Linked DNA regions of Homo sapiens: region 2 is linked to region 1. Evidence: promoter capture Hi-C in 16 types of primary human blood cells and fetal thymus (Javierre and others, 2016). All regions are on one chromosome and are shown on one strand. The core of a region is centred on a gene start or on the middle of the fragment in contact, and the rest is flanking DNA. Distances in the headings are between cores, read along the strand shown.

Region 1 (2,977 bases), core at 478-2,977:
TAAAATAGAAATATGTCTTTTTATTTTATTTTGAGACGGAGTCTCGCTCTCTCTCCCAGGCTGGAGTGCAGTGGCGCAATCTCGGCTCACTGCAACCTCTTTTTCCCGGAGTTCAAGCAATTCTCCTGCCTCAGCCTCCCGAGTAGCTGGGACTACAGGCGTGTGCCACCACACCCGACTAATTTTGGTATTTTTAGTAAAGACAGGGTTTCCCCATGTCGGACAGGCTGGTCTCAAAACTCCTGACTTCAGGTGATCTGCCCGCCTCAGCCTCCCAAAGTGCTGGGATCACAGGCATGAGCCACCGCGCCTGGCCAGAAATGTCTTTTGACAAAGGGCCCAATCCCCAGCCCCTGCTGTTCCCTGCAGGAGCTGACTCAGTGCTCTCCTGACTGAGAGTCCCTCAGCCCCATGCCTATAACCTGCTACCCACAGACAAAGAGAGGCCATCAGGTACCCGGGCTTCACTTTCCCTCCCACTCTCTGACCTCGCTGGCCCCTCCAGCAATGCCTGGCCCACCCCTACCAGTTCACGGACCCTGGTACAGGGACACTGCACCAATATCTTGGGACAAACACCCTCTCTGCCGAGCCCCCTCCCTTTCATTGGGACTCCTCTGTCAGGCCCCAGCTGGCCTCCCGGCTCCACCCTCGCCTCTCCATTCCCTTGTCCTTGAAGTGGCCAGAGTGATCTTTTGCTGAGCAGAAGCTCAGTGACCACCCCCCAACCCCATATCACCCAAGCTCCACATTAAGCCTACAGACACCAGGCCTCTAGTCCTCGCCCTCGAACCATGCGGCAGCCGTGGCCAGCACGTGAAGGGCTGGAACGCGTCTTGGCCGCAGGCCTTGCCCCACTGTGCCCTGTGCTGCCCTGGATGCTTCTGGGGACCCAATTTCTCCTGGTCTCTCATGATGCAGCCCCTGGGTCACAGGCCCCTCAGTCACCACCGCACTCATGGGGAAGTGGCTATGGGCTTGCTTGTCCCCAGCAGTGAGCAGCTTCCTGCTGCCTCCCTCATGTCTGGCTATGGAGCAGCCCACGACAGGCACCTTGCAAATGGTGGAGAGGAAGAGCAGGCGCTGGGAGCCAGAGCGCCAGGCAGCGTCGCAGGAGCAGGTTCTGGGCTGGCAAGCTCCCAGGCCTCCCCTCAGCAGGCCTGTTGCCTCTGGTAGGGGAAATGAGGGGTCCCCAGTGACGCCACATTCAGAGGGCACTGGACTCCCAGTTGTCCTAGGGGCTGATGAAACATAGAAGAAGCAGGAAGTGGCTGGGAGCAGCCAGGGACAGGGTTCCCATGGGAATGAGAAGGGCACCTCCAGGAGGATGCCCACAGGGGCACAGGTGGTGGGGGCTTGGCCTAAGGACCAGGTTGCCAAGTGGAGCACATCCCCACAGTCCGCACCGGAGAACGGGAGCCCGACCTGGGGTACGGGCTGCTTCACCCCCGCGTGGACCTCCCCCTCAGCTGGGGTGCGGAGGCTCAGCCTGGGGGCCCAGTTGCCCCTGGTCCCCAAGCAGCAGCCCCCTCTGCCTCCAGGGTGGGCCTGGAGCAGGAGGGGGGCCTCTGCCCGGGGGCCGGGCTCTCTGGGGCCGCCGTCGCGCCGCCCCCTCCCCGCACCGCATACCTTGCCCACAGCCGAGCAGCTGGGAGGCTATTTATAAAGGCGGGTGAGATCAGCGGCCGGCCAAGGCTATAAATTCGCAGGCCGCGGCCGGGCCCCACAGGAGCAGCCGCCCGGGGCACCGGAGCTGCGGGCTGCGTGGCCGGGATGAGCGCCAGCACGGGCGGTGGTGGGGACAGCGGCGGCAGCGGCGGCAGTAGCAGCAGGTAGGGCTCGGCTGGGGCACCCGGAGCCCCTGGCGTCTCTCATGCCCACTGCCACTCACCCCACCCGCAGCTCACAGGCCTCCTGCGGGCCCGAGTCCTCGGGCTCCGAACTAGCCCTGGCCACACCGGTGCCTCAGATGCTGCAGGGCCTTCTGGGCTCCGACGACGAGGAACAGGAAGACCCCAAAGACTACTGCAAGGGTGAGACTTGGCCTTGGGGACATGCGGCCTCACGGCCACTGCAGGGACCCAGGGCAGTCCTGGGCCCACATGGGCCAGATGGTCAATGGGGCCGAGGTGTTCGGGGGCCCAGGGGAGTGAGAACCCCCTCCACCCCAATCTACATCTCCCCTGGGCAGGCGGCTACCACCCTGTGAAGATCGGCGACGTGTTCAATGGGCGGTACCACGTGGTGCGCAAACTGGGCTGGGGCCACTTCTCCACCGTCTGGCTCTGCTGGGACATCCAGTGAGTGCCTCCTTCGCCTCCGGGGCCCAGCACTGGCTGGGATCCTGTCCCTGGGCTTGCTTGGGGCCACCCTGATCCCCGCCGTGGGTCCTGCCAGGGCCACAGCCTACAAGGGTCTCGGTATTGCAGGCGCAAGCGCTTTGTGGCCCTCAAAGTGGTGAAGAGTGCGGGGCATTACACGGAGACAGCTGTGGATGAGATCAAGCTCCTGAAATGTGTGAGGCACCTCCCTACCCCACTCCCAGCTCCCCTGGAGCTGCCTGGGGCCTGGCAATGCGGGTGCAAGGCCTGCCGGGGCTCTGTGGGGCAGGGCGGGGCTCCCTGAGGGGCAGCCTCCAGCTGGCTGTGCCCAAGGGGGAGGATCTGGAGGAACAGGCGAGGGACAGGAGGGGTTGGCGGCCTTTCTTCCAGCAGGGCCCAGCTGGAGCAGGAGAAGGGTACACTGAAGGGAGCTGTGGGCTTCAGGGCAGGGTGGAACCATCTGTGGCCCCTTGGCTTTTGCTCCAGGTCCGGGACAGCGACCCCAGTGACCCCAAAAGAGAGACCATTGTCCAGCTCATTGATGACTTCAGGATCTCAGGAGTCAATGGAGTCCGTATCCTTTGCAGGAAGAGCAAAGCAGTGTGGCAGCCAAGGGCCGGCAAATGGGGGGGCCCTCGCTGCTAGAGCCTGTCTGC
Region 2 (2,977 bases), core at 220-2,719, 50 kb after region 1:
GGTGGGGCAAGATTTGCGTCCCCGCCCTGCCCCTCGGCTCCCGCACCAGGTGGCCAGAGGAGCTCGGCTCACAGCGTGAAGTCAGTCCCCGGATTCCTGGGAATTCTCCCCCGTGCCCAGCCCCTCCTTCCCCCGCCCCCGCCCCCGCCCCGGAGTTCTCGCCGATCCCTGCACGGGTTCCCCCACGTTCTCCCAAGCCAACACCCCTCCTGCAAAGCACTTGATTCCTTCCCAGTCCAGACCAATAAACCCGGGAGTTGAATCCAGGCCACTAAACGCATACCTGTCTGAGCCCTGTCTGCTCCTGGGTGCCTTGACCTTGACCTCCCTCCACTTAGCCCTAGGAGGTCTCAGCCCACAGCATCCGGGACATTTCTCTAGACAGTCTGCAGGGTGCACACAGAAAGTACACAAATGCGGGGCCGGGGGAGCCTCCGCGCACACAGAGACGGGGCACAGGAACGCACTCACGTAGTCACGCCACGCACAGGCAAGAAGCCCCGTTCCGGGCCGCGGGGCTGGGCTCCAGGTCCGAGCTCCGGGCCCCGCGTCTCCTTCCCTCCCCGCGGGGCCCTGCTGGTCCACGCCCCGCAAAGCCCGGCCAGGCACTGCCACCCGCAGAGAGCCCAACCCGCTGATCCCGGCGGCGCCCACTCACCCGAGACGCCTAAGGCCCGGGAGCCCATCGTTCGGGCAGGGCCAGGCGGGAGTGGGTGTCGGGGTGGGCACCCAGCCCCCGGACGGACTTGGACCGCGCCCGGGGACGCCCACGCACTCCCACGCTCCAGGCCCGCCGGGATCTAGATTCGGCGCCCCCCGCACGGCGGGAGCCTGGCTCCCTCCCCCGCCCTGGGTCCTGCGGGGAGAGCGTGTGCGGGGAACTGCGCTCGTTGCTATGCAACCTCCATCCCGCGCCCGCCGCACCGCGCCTCCCGGGACGGAAGCGCGCCCCACCCGGGCCAACCCCAACTTCCCACCCCACCCGTGGCTGGTTCCCACGGAGCGCCAACACCCAACAGCCCCAGGATGGGAGGGTGCGGACGGCTCCCTACCTTGTCCTCCTCGAGCCCTCCCGCTCTCCCACGCCCGCCGCTCCGGGCCTCCCCACTGGCCCGCTCCTCCCCGCGGAGGGCCGCGCCCCCGCCGCAGCGCCGGCGGCCCTACCTGCAGCATCACTTTGTACTGCTCCTCCGGTTTCTGGACCACGCACATATTACATCCCATGTTGCTGGCCGGCGAGAGGAGGCGGAGGGCGGGAACGGGAAGACGCCTTTCACTGACCCGGGCGCGGGACCTCGGGTCCCGGGCCGGGGCCAGGGGCCATACCCTGGCGCGGGGGGCGGGCCGCCTAGCGGGGGAGGGGGGCACGCCCCCGAGGTGGGGGCAGCGGCTCGCCCCTCAGGTTAACTCTTCGCTGGCCGAGGCCAGGCGCGGGCATGCTCCCTCGCACCCGGCCAGGAGAAAAAGGGCAGCGGGGGATGGGCGGGCGCGCCGGGCGTTGCCAGGCTACGGCCCCCCAGGGAGCGCGGGGGCGCGCCGGGCCGCCAGGGGCCGTCAGGGGCCGTGGGCCGCGCGCCTCCCCGCCCGCGGGGCCCGCCGCTGCCGCTGCCGCCTCCGGCTCCTGCCCATGGCCGCCAGCCCCGGGAGCCCGGCCCTCGCGCTCGGCGCCGCGGCCCGGCCCGCGACAGGGGGGCAGCGGCGCGGCGGCGGCCCCCGCCCGCGGCCAGGCCAGCGCCCGCGCTCCCGCCTCGCCCGGCCGCGCTCTCGGAGCTCCCGGCGCCCGCTCTTCGTCCAGCAGCCGCTGGCCGTCTCCAGCTCCCGCCCGGGACGACGGGCACGCGAGCGCGCCCACGGCGGCGGGGGAGGGGCGCGGGCACGGGGCGCACGCGCGCCGGGAGGGGCGGGGAGGGGAGCGGGGCCGGCTGCGGGAGGGAGCGGCGGGGGCGCTGGAGCCGGCGCGGGAAGCCGGGGGCGGGCGCTCGACGGAAGCGGGCGGGGGTCCTAGGCACCCCACGACACCCGGCGTCCGGTCCTGAGGGGCGGGCACCAGGCGCGTTGTCTGCGCGATGCCGCTCTGGGAGAGAGGGGTCCTGCCAGGAGGAGCAGTCTCCTGGGTCCCCCAGAGAGAGTCCGCGATTTCAGCCCCTCTCCCCGGTCTTGGACGCAGCAGCCCTCACGCCTCTGCTCCTTCCTCGGGCTTCGCCTTAAATGACTGCATCCCTCCTTCAACTCAGCCATTCCCTGCTGTCTTTGAAACGGACACCTTTGTTTAAAACAAGAAAGAAAGAGAGAAAGGGAGGAAAGAAAAGAAAGAGAGAAAGAAAAAAGGATGAGCGAAGCGTGGGGAGGGGGTGGGTCGTGGGGAGAGTGGCCTCGGAGGCCTTGGGACCCGGGCCTGCACACAGCACTGGCCAGCCTGGGCCCGCCGCCTACCTGTTCCTCAGCCCCAGCCCTCACCCGGTCCCCGCTTTCACAGCCCTTCCATCTCTTCCTCTTCTCTCCCACCACCTCCCCGTCTTCTTGGACAAGCCTGGAGGGAGAAGGCCTTTGCCTGGAAAGCAGCAGCGGGTGGAAGTCTGCGTTCCCAGAGGCTGCCCCGGCTGCAGGAGATCACTTGGAGAAATTGCTACATGCTTCATTTCCAGGTTTGGGCAAGTGAGGGAACCCCCAGCCACACGGGGCTGTTGAATCGGAGCCCTTCCTTTCCTCCCTGGCTCCTCGTTAGAAGAGAAATCAAGAATGGCGGGCCTGCCCAGAATGTGGAGAAGAGAGGCGAGTTTCTTATCCAGGGCTTCTCCCAGAAAGCAGAACTTGAGACAAGGGCTGGTGTGCAGGTTGCAACCTGCCACCCAATGGCTGGCTAGTCTTGAGGAATGGCGTCATATTGAGGGCTCAGCATCGGTCTCTGCAGCTGGTGGATGGAAGAACATTCACTAGCGGCAGTGTCTAGATGAGCCGTGGTAAGAGGAAGCCCTTG

The links. Contacts are between HindIII fragments. The CHiCAGO score rates a contact against its expected background, and 5 or more counts as called.
Region 2: the fragment with the promoter of PDZD4 here is called in contact with the fragment with the promoter of SRPK3 in region 1 in 17 of 17 cell types (M2 macrophages, naive CD8 T cells, non-activated CD4 T cells and 14 more); the score reaches 14.3 in M2 macrophages.

Annotation. Positions count from the first base shown.
Region 1 is chrX:153,779,314-153,782,290 of GRCh38, forward strand. SRPK3 (SRSF protein kinase 3) reads left to right here and starts at 1,728. Exons shown (of 15, transcript NM_014370.4): 1 at 1,728-1,832; 2 at 1,903-2,033; 3 at 2,192-2,300; 4 at 2,430-2,517; 5 at 2,808-2,895. The coding sequence starts at 1,774. It overlaps LOC124905227 (a long non-coding RNA gene), which reads right to left. Exons shown (of 2, transcript XR_007068355.1): 2 at 1-2,977. PLXNB3 (plexin B3) reads left to right here. Exons shown (of 36, transcript NM_005393.3): 36 at 1-28. The HindIII fragment of the contact is 52,875 bases long and covers 1-2,977 here.
Region 2 is chrX:153,829,075-153,832,051 of GRCh38, forward strand. It overlaps PDZD4 (PDZ domain containing 4), which reads right to left and starts at 1,470. Exons shown (of 8, transcript NM_001303512.2): 1 at 1,165-1,470. The coding sequence starts at 1,224. The HindIII fragment of the contact is 12,640 bases long and covers 1-2,977 here.